Regions from separate parts of the Homo sapiens genome. Here regions 2 and 3 are each linked to region 1. The links are contacts of gene promoters, found by promoter capture Hi-C in human tissues and cell types (Jung and others, 2019). All regions are on one chromosome and are shown on one strand. Each heading gives the region's core, a stretch centred on a gene start or on the middle of the fragment in contact. The rest is flanking DNA. Distances are from core to core; before and after follow the strand shown. Region 1 holds the start of ANKRD46 (ankyrin repeat domain 46). Region 2 overlaps STK3 (serine/threonine kinase 3). Region 3 has its middle 37 kb from the start of RRM2B.

Region 1 (3,942 bases), core at 705-3,204:
GCCAAACCATATCAGCTCCTAACAGCCACTGTGTCAAAGTGCCCAGGTGTGGTAACATGAAGGAGCCATAGAATATGTGCAGCATGCAGTTCACTTTAATCTCATCAGAGAAAAAAGCTGTCTTCACCATCCCTACATTTTTTCATATCAATCAAAAGCAGTAATTCATGAAGAGGAAGAGATAAATTTGAATAGAAGTAATGGAGAGGCTCTCAGATTGTTGGATGAGTCAACTAATGAAGAGTAAATCTTATTAATACATTGGGAAAAGCTTTAATTTCCTTGCTAATTTGTCATAGTTTATAGGCATCAGTGAAGATATTATAAACTCAATACACAACCAGAAGGAGGACATCAATAACAAACTGATTAATAAATGTCATCAATTTAACAAGTAATATTGCTGATTAGTCATAGCACAATAAAATGTGAAATGCCCTAAGATCTTATAACTTTTTTTTTTTTGAGATGGAGTCTTGTTCTGTCACCCAGGCTGGAGTGCAGTGGTGAGATCTCGGCTCATTGTGACCTCCGCCTTTTGGGGTTCAAGGATTCTTGTGCCTCAGCCTCCTGAGTAGCTGGGATTACAGGTGTGCAACACCGTGCCTGGCTAATTTTTGTATTTTTGTAGAGCCAAGGTTTCACCATGTTGGTCCGGCTGGTCTCGAACTCCTGACCTCAAGTGATCTGTCCACCCCAGCATCCCAAAGTGCTGGGATTACAGGTGTGAGCCACCGTGCATGGCCAGATCTTATAATTCTTACATGAAAGAAATGTAATAGTGATTTCCTCTAATATGACAATAGTCCTAAACCTTTACATGACACTTTCAAGAACAAATTATTAGATGGTGTAGGTGGTCCTTGAATGAATGAACCATGAGATACCCTAGAGCAGGGGTGTCCAATCTTTTGGCTTCCCTGGGCCACATTGGAAGAAGAATTGTCTTGGGCCACACATAAAATACACTAACACCAGCAATTGTTGATGAGCTAAAAAAAAATTGCAAAAAAAAAAAAACTCATAATGTTTTAAGAGAGTTTATTAATTTGTGTTGGGCTGCATTCTAAACTGTCTTGGCTGCATGCAGCCTGCAGGTGTGGGCCAGGGGTTGGACAAGTTTGCCATAGAGCGTGGCTTGGTTGGATGAGGGTGCTAGAATTCAGAGGACGGTCACTGTGCAGTGAGAGTTGTCTTGGCTGTAGGACTGGAGTTGGTAAAATGAAAAAAAGAAAAAACTAGTTTTGCATGAAAGAATGTTTCCAGCATATGAATGTCCCACCACACTTTTAGTTAGTCTTGGCTGTACATGTTGCAATAAGTCAAGGAACCCTACAAAGTAGGATGGAAGGATTCAAACTGCGAATCGCTTGAACCCGGAAGGCGGAGTTGGAGTTTGCAGTGAGCCGAGGTTGAGCAACTGCACTCCAGCCTGGGCGACAGAGTGAGACTCCGTCTAAAAAAAAAAAAAAAAAAAAAGATTCAAACTGCTTTTGAAAAAAGTAAAAATGCAGGGTTATATTTTAGAAATAGTGCAGCCAATCATTAGTGGCTATTCCTAATATGTCAATTTCGGGTCTATAGAAGACCTACCTAGAGGCCAGCAACTATTAATTGATGCTTATAGCACCTAATGAAACTGCCCTTGCCTTTGAAGCCCCCATTTAGCTAAGGGGATGGGATGTGAATTTAGAATAGGACGTGAAAAGTGCAAAATGCTCCCGGACTCAGATCGGATAAACCTCTTCTAGGCTGTCTTTCTCTTCTGAAGCCACAGTTTTGATGCTTTCCCTAATTCAGAGCAGGCTTTCCCGGAGTCTCTGACTCAGAGCAGCCCGAGCCACCGTGAGGACCGCCCACCTGCAGGGGGCGCGCCGGGGGCTGCAGCGCGAGACCGCTCTGGCCCAGCGGGGACTCCGACTACCCCTGTCTGGCCCCTCCCCTCCGCCCGTCACCGCCTCCTTGAAGCTGCCGCTGTCGCTGCTGCTCGTTCGAGTCGCAGGTACTTGGCCCGGGGCCTGTGGGCAGCGCCTGGGCTAGAGCCACTTGATATCTCCTGCACCGTCCCTGTAGCACTGGAGGTCCAGTAGGCCTGGCCGGGGCCCTGAGGGGCGAGGGTGCCCGGGCTTCCCACACCTTCCGCGGCGACTGGAGGGAGCCGGGCCGAGGAAGCGACCGCGGGTCCGTGATGGCTTCTTCGCGGTCTGTGTGTTCACGAGGGCCGGGCAGAGGCCTGCGAGGGTTCTCGTTTGCGCTTGCGGGTTAGGGCTGTGGTCCGGGGAACCCCTGGGCAGCGCGGGCAGCCCTGGCTCGCGGTTAATCGGGGGGTGGAGCGCGGAAGCCACGCCGCAGGTCCAGCTGCTCGGCCGGGGCGAGACGGTGCTTTCGCGGCGTGTGCTTGCAGGAGCGCACAGTTCAGGCGCCGGGACAAGCTGTTGGGGTGTGAGTGAGCTCTCCAGAATGGCACATGGCTCCGGGGTGCCCGGGTTAAAAGGAAGGATTTGCACACCTTCCACTTAGGGCTCGGGTAATCGCAAACTTCCTCCCTTAATTGGCTTGCAGTGCTAAAAAGCAGATCGTTCTCTCTGAGGTTTTCCCAACAGTACCTCAAGAAAATAACATCTGTTTTTTGTAACGTTCCACGGTATTCGGAATTGGCTACAGAACATAATAAGGTAAAAATATGCCATTGAATAGTAGCGCTTCTCAATCTTTAAAAAATGACGGTGGTACCTAGGAGCCTCTTAAAGAGCTGTAATATGAGTGGTGTGGGGATTATTTTTATGTTCTAGTAATAGCTATTTTCAGTGCTTATTTTATGTCAGACACGGTGCCATTGCTTTAAATACCTGGTACCTTTAATCCTTGAAGCAACCCTATCAGGTACCATTTCCATTATACAGATAAGGAAACTGAGGCACCGAGAGTCTGACTTCTCCAAGGTCAGAAAGCTAGCAAAGGCTGAGCGAGATTTGGTCTCATCTCCCTTACTTCAGTATCCCTGCGTCTGTTATCTAGCCAAACATGTAGCGCTGTCTAAGAGTTTTATCAATTAGATTTGTAGCCTGAACTGATTTCTCTCAGGCTTAGTTTTCATGGTTATATGCAGGAGTCCTACATGAACTCCTTTTTAGTTTAAAAGGAGTTTAGTAAGAAAACTGTTAGCTCATTAAGGACTATAGTGATAATAAAGTTAAACTTGGACTGGGGTTCTCACTGTGCCAGTACAATTTGATTTGAAATAGAGATGAATTTGTTTGGTTGTTAACACACTTTATTACATTTCTTCATTATTTATGTTTCCATACCATTTTTTAGTGAGTTCACTTTGCCTTTGCATTATTATGGTAGCAGTACCAGAGGGAAATCAAAGATTTTTTGATGATAGTAAGTTAATATTTTACAGAATACAGGAAAGGCACTGGAGAGAGGATGTGAAGTGATAAGGAATTTTTGGCATGTTATATAAATTGTGTTACTATGGAAAACAAAGGATTCTCACAGTTCTTTATCAAAAGGGAAATTGTATTTCCCATTGTGGAAATAAGTTGGGCTTTATAGTCCCAAACTTCTTAGCCTTACCTATTATAGATTTAAGAATTTGCATATTCGGCATTCATATAGCAAGCGTATATTGAGTGCCTTCTATGGCCAGGCTCTGTTCTAAGCACTGGGGGATGTGAGAGTGAACAAAATGAAGTCCTTGTCTTCCAGGAGCTAACATGTCACTGGAGGAAGGTGGGGTTGGGGACGATAAGCGGGATTTGTGAAAGTTAACGTATCTGGAGTCAGATGGTAACAGTTACTAGGAATAAAAATAAAGTAGCAAAGGGGGATAGGAAGCACCAAGGAAGGAACAGGTGCAGTTTTAAAATAAGGACTGGTGCCATGGAAAAGACTCAAGCAAAACTGAAGGCGTTGGGGACCGCCATGCAGCTGTCT
Region 2 (3,942 bases), core at 596-3,095, 1.9 Mb after region 1:
GATAGTCTTTGCTTGTGTTTCCATTTTCCTAATCTTTCTCTGACGTTTTTTCTTCTGAGTTCTCAATATTAGGTCAGAAGTCCAGAACTTGGAAGGGTTAGGAGTGGCATTGGTGTAGGAGCTTCTCGCAGAAGATTCATTGCAAGCCTCCCTCCCTCATTTACTTTCCTTTATGTAAAGCTGTTGGTTTCATTTTCATCAAGAATCTGAAATATCTCAGGGGAAGTATCTGAATTTACTTTTTCAGAACAGATATTAGCTGTGATAGTGCCCTCCCAGTATTAGAAGATGTGGGAAATCACTATTATGATTCCTTATATCAGGCTGATTCTTGAGATATGTTGTTTGCTTTAGGAATGATACTGATAATTTTTTTTTTTTTTTGAGATGGAGTCTCGCTGTGTCGCCCAGGCTGGCATGCAGTGATGTGATCTCAGCTCACTGCAACCTCTGCCTCCCAGGTTCAAGTGACTCTCCTGCCTCAGCCTCCTGAGTAGCTGGGATTACAAGTGCACGCCATCACGCCTGGCTAATTTTTGTATTTTTAGTAGAGACGAGGTTTCACCATGTGGGCCAGGCTGGTTTTGAACTCCTGACCTCAAGTGATCTGCTCGCCTCAGCCTCCCAAAGTGCTGGGATTACAGGTGTGAGCCACCACGCCCTGCTGATACTGATAATCTTAAAGAGAGAAATTTGATCATCCTTTCATTAGTAAAATGTGTAATAAGAAAGCTTATTGTGGGAAGAAGAGGTTCTCGATTATTTACCCCTTTAGCATTTTCCTGGAGGTTTAGCGGTCATTAGAAAGAAGTACTTGTGGCTAGGCATGGTGGCTCACACCTATAATCCCAACACTTTGGGAAGCTGAGGAAGGAGAATTGTTTGAAGCAAAGAGTTCAAGACCAGCCCGGGCAACATAGCGAGATCCCCATCTCTACAAAAATAAAAATAAGTTAGCCTATTGGGTTGGCATGTGCCTGTAGTTCTAGCTACTCGGGAAGCTGAGGTGGGAGCATGCCTTGAGCCCAGGAATTTTAGGCTGCAGTGAGCTATCATCACACCACTGCACTGTAGCCTGGGCAACAGAGTGGGGTCTCTTAAAAAAAAACACACACACACACACGGAAAGACATACTTGTTACTAGTGCTCTTTCGTAAGATTTTATCTAACGTGGCATTTTAATTATGGTTTTAAAAATATTTCTTTCCAGTTAATAGAAGATGAAATTGCAACCATTCTTAAATCTACATTGAAAGGACTAGAATATTTGCACTTTATGAGAAAAATACACAGAGATATAAAAGCTGGAAATATTCTCCTCAATACAGAAGGACATGCAAAATTGGCAGATTTTGGAGTGGCTGGTCAGTTAACAGTAAGTTAACTTTAATGGTTTTCTAAACACTTGGCTAATTTGTTCAGATTTGATTATAACTAAACTTCAATTACTTTTTGAGGGGGAATGGAAAGAAATGTGTAGTTTTTTAATTTTTGTGGAGAAGGAACCATAATTGAGCCAAATTTGAGTATTATTTAATTTATAATTTAGGGTGATTGAATGTGAAAATATATCTTATAATCAAAATGCTTAAATGTTCTAAAAGGGAAGCTACGTAGCTCATTTCTGTAGCTTTTATCATTGTAGCACTATCTTTAATGACTGTGTTTAATGATGGTAGTGTGGATAAGTTACCTGTGGACTCTTGGTTATTTTCAGAATTCGGAATTCCTAAGTATGTCATAACTAGTTGAAATTTTAGCAAAATAGTCAATTTCTGATATAATCTGTGGCATTGGAGGTTTTAACATTTTTTAAAAGTATGTTTGGCATACAGATTTCCTTTGTGCTTTTGTAGTAGCATTTATGGCTATGTAACATTATTGCAGGATACAATGGCAAAACGCAATACTGTAATAGGAACTCCATTTTGGATGGCTCCTGAGGTGATTCAAGAAATAGGCTATAACTGTGTGGCCGACATCTGGTCCCTTGGCATTACTTCTATAGAAATGGCTGAAGGAAAACCTCCTTATGCTGATATACATCCAATGAGGGTAAGAAAATTATGGTTTGCTGAAAATGTTAGCCTTATATAAGTGTTGCCGTTTTGTAATGTCAATGTAAGTAAATATAAACTAAATAAGTTCATTTAAATGTATTCTTTTTAAAAATGGTAAAATTACCTCTTAAAGATTAGTAACTGTTAACTTCTCTTCCTTCTGCATTCTTAATTGTGAGAAAAGAACTGAAGGCTTTGTATATCTCTACCATCACTGTTCTCCTCCCCCAAAAATATACTTGTAAAATTTTTGCTTGCTTTTCAATAGAAGAAAGGGTTGGTAAATCCTCTTTGCTCTTCAGTTTATTGTTTTCTTGATTGTGGTAGTGAAAGAGTTGGAAGTAATCATTTCTCACTTTTTTACCCACTCTGTGATTTATACCTTACTGTGTGTTTTTTTTTTTCTGCCTTTTCTCTTCTTTGGTCTGAGGATGGTATTAAGCAATCCTAATTTCTAATATTACTATGCACATATAAAGGAATTCGGCTAATTTTTTTTAATGAATGCATGCTGAGAAAATGGAATTCCTTTTTTGAACATCATTATATGCTTCTGTGAACTCTGCAGGATAATTTTTGAGTTTGAAATATATATTTTGCATATTCAAGTCTAATTGCCTGTGTTTCAGGGTTTGTGATGATATACTTTTTAGGTTTATTACTATGTGAATCATATAGATAAGTTCATCATCATAAATAGGTACACTGATCTTTGTATACTTATTGCCCTCTAGTGGCTGTAGTTATCTCAATAAGGATGTAGGAATGAGGGGAGGAGTGTATGTATGTGTGTATTTGTAGAAAAGAGAAGATAATATCATGGTGGCTGGAGGAATGTGAAGTAAATAGATAGAAAGAGGAAGAATGCATAAAAATTCAGATATTTTAGAATATCTGAAGAAGAATAAATTGGAATTACATCTGATATTATAATGCCATTGTGGGTTAAATTTCGATAATATAGGTAACAGTGTATTATACAGAAAATATTTAAAAATCTGTCTGCTGTATTGAAACATTTTAAAGAGAGTTTTTTTTTTTTTTCTTTTGAGATAAGGTCTCACTCTGTCACCCAGCCTGGATTGTAGTAGTGCGATCATGGCTCACTCGAGCCTCGACCTCCTGGGCTCAGGTGATCCTCCCACCTCAGCCTGCAGAGTAGCTGGGACTATAGGTATGCACCACCATGCCCAACTAATTTTTTGTAGAGACAAGGTGTCGCCATGTTGCCCAGGCTGGTCTCCAACTTCTGGGCTCAAGCGATCCGCCCACCTCAGCTTCCCAAAGTGCTGGGATTACAGCAGTGTGCCCAGCCTAGAGTTCTTTGAGTAATGTAATTGTATACAATATGTATCATCTTCCTGGTGTATATAAATTCCTTTTGGTAAATGAAAGATAAAAATGCATCAATTGTTTGAAAATAACTTGAAAAACAACAAGGTCAGCATAAAAACAGGAACACAAAGTCTTATTTCATCTCTGATCATTAGTTATCTGTGGTTCTTTTAGTTAGGATGTTTGTAGGGTGATCCTCAAAGTAGGTGTATTTGAGTTTGAATCAGTGAGGTTTACTAAATTACCCAAGGCAACCTAGGTAAGTACAAGAGCTGGGATTTAACTTAGGACTTCCATTATTACTATTCTGCTTCTTCCCTGTGTAAATCTTATTTTTCCAACCAAATAGTTCAACATGTTAAATTTGATCCTGTGCTCAGATAGCAGAGAATTGTAATATGTGGCCTCTTCCTTTAAGGATCTTCTAATATTACCTGAGAGTTTGAATGAATACATTATACATTATTAAAAATATACCTGAAAATAATATTTCTTTTAGAAAAAAATATACCTGTATTGCAAACTTCCTAGGATGCCTTGCTCACT
Region 3 (3,942 bases), core at 1,007-3,506, 1.6 Mb before region 1:
TACATGGAAATAATCGGTATTTATGTGAGTATCGGGCTCAGCAAGAAACAGTTGGCAATTCAAGTTAGGGTAATTCAAAAGAAGTTTGGCAACAGGACAATTTAGAAAGTTATGGACAGGAAACCATAGGAAATAGTGTAGTACATGGGGCTACCAATTAATTACAGGGCTGTTACCACCCCTGCTTAACTCCTCCCTTAAGCTTGAGGGAGCAGTTAAACCAGAGGGAGAGAATTATGAATAAGATGTGATCTTCATTTAGAGCGAGACAGCAAGCCTAAGGCAACTTCGCTGAGAAGGAGCCAGAAAATAAATACTCTCACCTTGTTCCTCTTGCCTCCTATCTCCTTCAGTGGCTCCCCATTAGCCAAAACCAACTAGGAGCAAGAGGGCAAGGGAGCTTGATGCCGTCCTTACAGATCAGCCTCCAGGCGTAGGGTGGAAAATGGATCTGGACGACATATAGAAGATGTGTCACAAAGAGTGTTGGAAATTATTGGTACTTTCCTCAAAGAATTACAAGAAAGAGATGAGCTCAGGAAAGAATTAGTGAGTTTGTAAGAAAAACCAAAAGGAAATCAGACTCAAAAAATTAAGTACCTTGCAGGCTGAAAAAGCAGGCTGATTGTAAACCCCCAAAATAAGAGTTGGGATTGAGAAAAATTCTTTTTTTTTTTTGAGACAGAGTCTCACTCCGTTGCCAGGCTGGAGTGCAGTGGCGCGATCTCGGCTCACTGCAACCTCCACCTCCCGGATTCAAGCAATTCTCCTGCCTCAGCCTCCCGAGTAGCTGGGACTACAGGCGTTCGCCACCATGCCCAGTGAATTTTTGTATTTTTAGTACAGATGGGGTTTCACCATGTTGGTCAGGATGGTCTCTATCTCTTGACCTCATGATCCGCCCAACTCGGCCTCCTAAAGTGCTGGGATAACAGGCGTGAGCCACCGTGCCCAACTGAGAAAAAATCTTGAGATAAGAATTCATCAAGACAATCTTGGCAAAGGTAAGAAGAGGGGTGTGAGAAGGTAATGTAAGCCTCCTGAGAAGGTGGGATGATGGAAAGCACAGGTGGAGGGCTTGACCTCAGACACTTCCTCTATTGTAGCAGGAGGGAAGCTAGGGAAGGTGGATGGATGGTGATGGGGTATGTCTGTAGTTTAGTGAAGAGACATTGTAAGCTTGTTGTTTGTTGACTTAATTTCTCTGTGAAAGAGATGATAAGGTCACCTCCTTGGGAAGTGGGGGTAGGGGCAGCGAGGGGAGGTGTGAAGAAGCAATTGTGGAGGATGGAGAGCCTAGTAGATTCAGTTTGCCTTAGTGTATGGTTTTTCTCTAGCAGCATTTGCTGCTAGGGTACAAATATGTAAAAACTGGATTGTTGCATTCACAATGGGTTTTTTCCTGGATTTTTCTATGTATGGTAAAATGTATGTATGTATGGTAAAATGCAGGTGAGGAACAGAGTTAAGGCTATTGATAGGAATGCTACTACTAGTAATATGATGGACTCCGGAATCTTAGCTGGATAGAGAGACGTGAAGAGAAGAGGTTCATGGATTGGGAGAAAGTAGATGAGTGAGAGAACTTGGGGGTCTTGATTAAGTCTAAGAACTGTGGTGGGGGGAGTAGGTGAACAAGTGCTCTGGAAGGGGAGGAGATTGTGGTCAGAGTGAGGTGCTAGAATTGGTGATTCAGAACATAGTAAGTGTGGGAGAAGGAGGCTGGGGTTTGTTGCTGGGGAAGTGGGTGGGCTCATTGGTGATGAGAACCTCAGGGAGCTGAGAGTCCAGGGTTTTGCATCTTGGGTGGATCCTGAGAGCCAAGTGTTTAACTCTTCAGTGAAAGAGAGGTACTGTCAGGACAAGATGAGGAGTAGGAGAGGGAGGTATAGCTGAGTTGTGAGTCTTAAAAGAGCAGGGTTGTAACAAAATAATGTGGTGTCCATGGTCTGGAGGTGTCAGTGGGGATCAAAGAGGACCCCAGCTCAACTTTCCCCACATACCTGAGAGGTCCATGGGGTGTGAGAAAATAAAAGCTTTCTTTCCAAAGGCGACATGGGAAGAGTTCCCAGGGCAATGCCCTGTTTCAGGTAACATAAGGCCCGCAGAGGAAGGCACCAACTGACTGATTTTGGAGAAGGGGTTACCAAAGGCTCAGGGCCAGCATTTGGGAGGGATAGACAAGTGAGGCTGGGTCAGGAATGGGGCCATGTACAGCACTATCAGGACTACGGTGAGGCGACCGTAGATAGCTGGGGGTGGTACTGACTTGTTAAAACTGGCTGAGTTGAGGTGCAGTGAAGATCCACCATGTGAAGGAAAGAGTTGTCCTGGTTTTATGGGACCTTGCTAGGTGATGTGTCTATGGCAGGATAGCACTCATTGTACATCTGGGCTTTCTGCATCCTGTGCCAACTCTCACAACCACATCTCCTGTTCTCTGATCATTTCTCCAGCTTAGCATGTTTACACATCATAGAAAGAAGGGGTGAGAAACATTCTCCTGTCGCCTACTCAATTGTCTGAGTAATGGTCAAAGGCCATGTTCTTTATAGTCTCTCATCAATAATGATAATGTCCAAGTTCTGACAGTAAAAGTGTAAGCTTCACTGTATCTTGGAAGATTTATTTCTCAGGAAATTAATAAATATTTATGCATACTTTAGAGTTTACAAGGTGATTTTGCAGTCATACCATTGCAATAATTTCATTGGCTCACCAATTTTATGAGAAATTGCTGTCATAATAATATCATTATTATTATGATAACAATGATATTTGGGACTTGAAGCTCAGAGAAGTTAAGTTCCTGTCCAAAGTCACACAACTAGTAAGGGGTAGAGGCATGACCCCAACCCAGGCATCATGGTTTAAATCGCATCATCTTTTCACTGAGTGCACCCAAATTTCTATTGCTAGCTGGTGGAAGTCAAGATGATTTTTTGGTGGGATACGATCCCTTTGAGCTACACACCCTCCATAACACACTCCATTGGCAGGTGTCAATTTAGAGCTTCATTTGTCCGTCTCAAGGTCATGCGGCATGGCTTGCTGAGAATTGTGTTTGAGCATCACTTCATGACTGGAATGGCAATAATGTTTGAAGACATTGGGACTGCAAGGGCAGTTGATACTTGTTTTTTAATTACATCTGGAAAATCTTCTTTGAAAAGTTTAGTTTGTTTGTTTGTTTGTTTTTGAGATGGAGTCTTGCTCTTTCGTCCAGTCTGGAGTGCAGTGGTGTGATCTCGGCTCACTGATCCCGGCTCTCTGCTTCCCAGGTTCAAGTGATTCTCCTGCCTCAGCCTCCCAAGTAGCTGGGATTACAGGCACATGCCACCATGCCCGGCTAATTTTTGTATTTGTAGTAGAGACACGTAGAGACAGGGTTTCACCATGTTGGCCAGGCTGGTCTCGAACTCCTGACCTCAAGTGATCTGCCCACCTCGGCCTCCCAAAGTGCTGCAGTTACAGGTGTGAGCCACCACGCCTGATCCTGAATAGTTTTTTTTTTTTAAGTAAAATAATTTAAAAACGTTAAGAAAAGAAATAGTACAGGTGAAACTCACAATGGCATGTCCGGCCAGTGGCTGCATATGACAAATTTTGGAAACCTGAGAACACATCACGTGGTCTACTGTGTAAAATGTTAGATGCTGCTCAAAAAATTTAGAGGAGTTTTCCAAGAAGTCTTGCCCAGAACTTAGGGTAATAAATTGGTGGCAAATAAAGATATGCTTGCTTCAATTTATTTAAATTCCAGACTGATATGTTTCGGATTTGTGGACCCGCCCGAATCTCATGTTGAATTGTAATCCCCAGTGTTAGAGGAGGGGCCTATTGGGAGGTGATTGGATCAAGGGGGCCAACTTCCGCCTTGCTGTTCTCATGATAGTGAGTGAGTTCTCACGAGATCTGATCGTTTAAAAGTGTGTAGCACTT

What was found. The method cuts DNA at HindIII sites, captures the fragments that hold promoters and counts their contacts. A contact is called where the count stands out against the background at its distance.
Region 2: a contact is called between a fragment that was not itself captured here and the fragment with the promoter of ANKRD46 in region 1, in 1 of the 25 tissues and cell types used here (lymphoblastoid cells).
Region 3: a fragment that was not itself captured here is called in contact with the fragment with the promoter of ANKRD46 in region 1 in 1 of the 25 tissues and cell types used here (lymphoblastoid cells).

The regions. Positions count from the first base shown.
Region 1 is chr8:100,557,771-100,561,712 of GRCh38, reverse strand. It overlaps ANKRD46 (ankyrin repeat domain 46), which reads left to right and starts at 1,954. Exons shown (of 5, transcript NM_001270377.2): 1 at 1,954-2,002. RefSeq lists enhancers at 1,651-1,790, 1,758-2,052 and a silencer at 1,791-1,960. The HindIII fragment of the contact is 6,170 bases long and covers 1-3,942 here.
Region 2 is chr8:98,704,581-98,708,522 of GRCh38, reverse strand. It overlaps STK3 (serine/threonine kinase 3), which reads left to right. Exons shown (of 11, transcript NM_006281.4): 5 at 1,212-1,376; 6 at 1,889-2,056. Among named protein-coding and RNA genes, the nearest start is that of STK3, 120 kb to the left of the region's middle. The HindIII fragment of the contact is 3,570 bases long and covers 61-3,630 here.
Region 3 is chr8:102,199,522-102,203,463 of GRCh38, reverse strand. No RefSeq gene overlaps it. Among named protein-coding and RNA genes, the nearest start is that of RRM2B, 37 kb to the left of the region's middle. The HindIII fragment of the contact is 3,129 bases long and covers 692-3,820 here.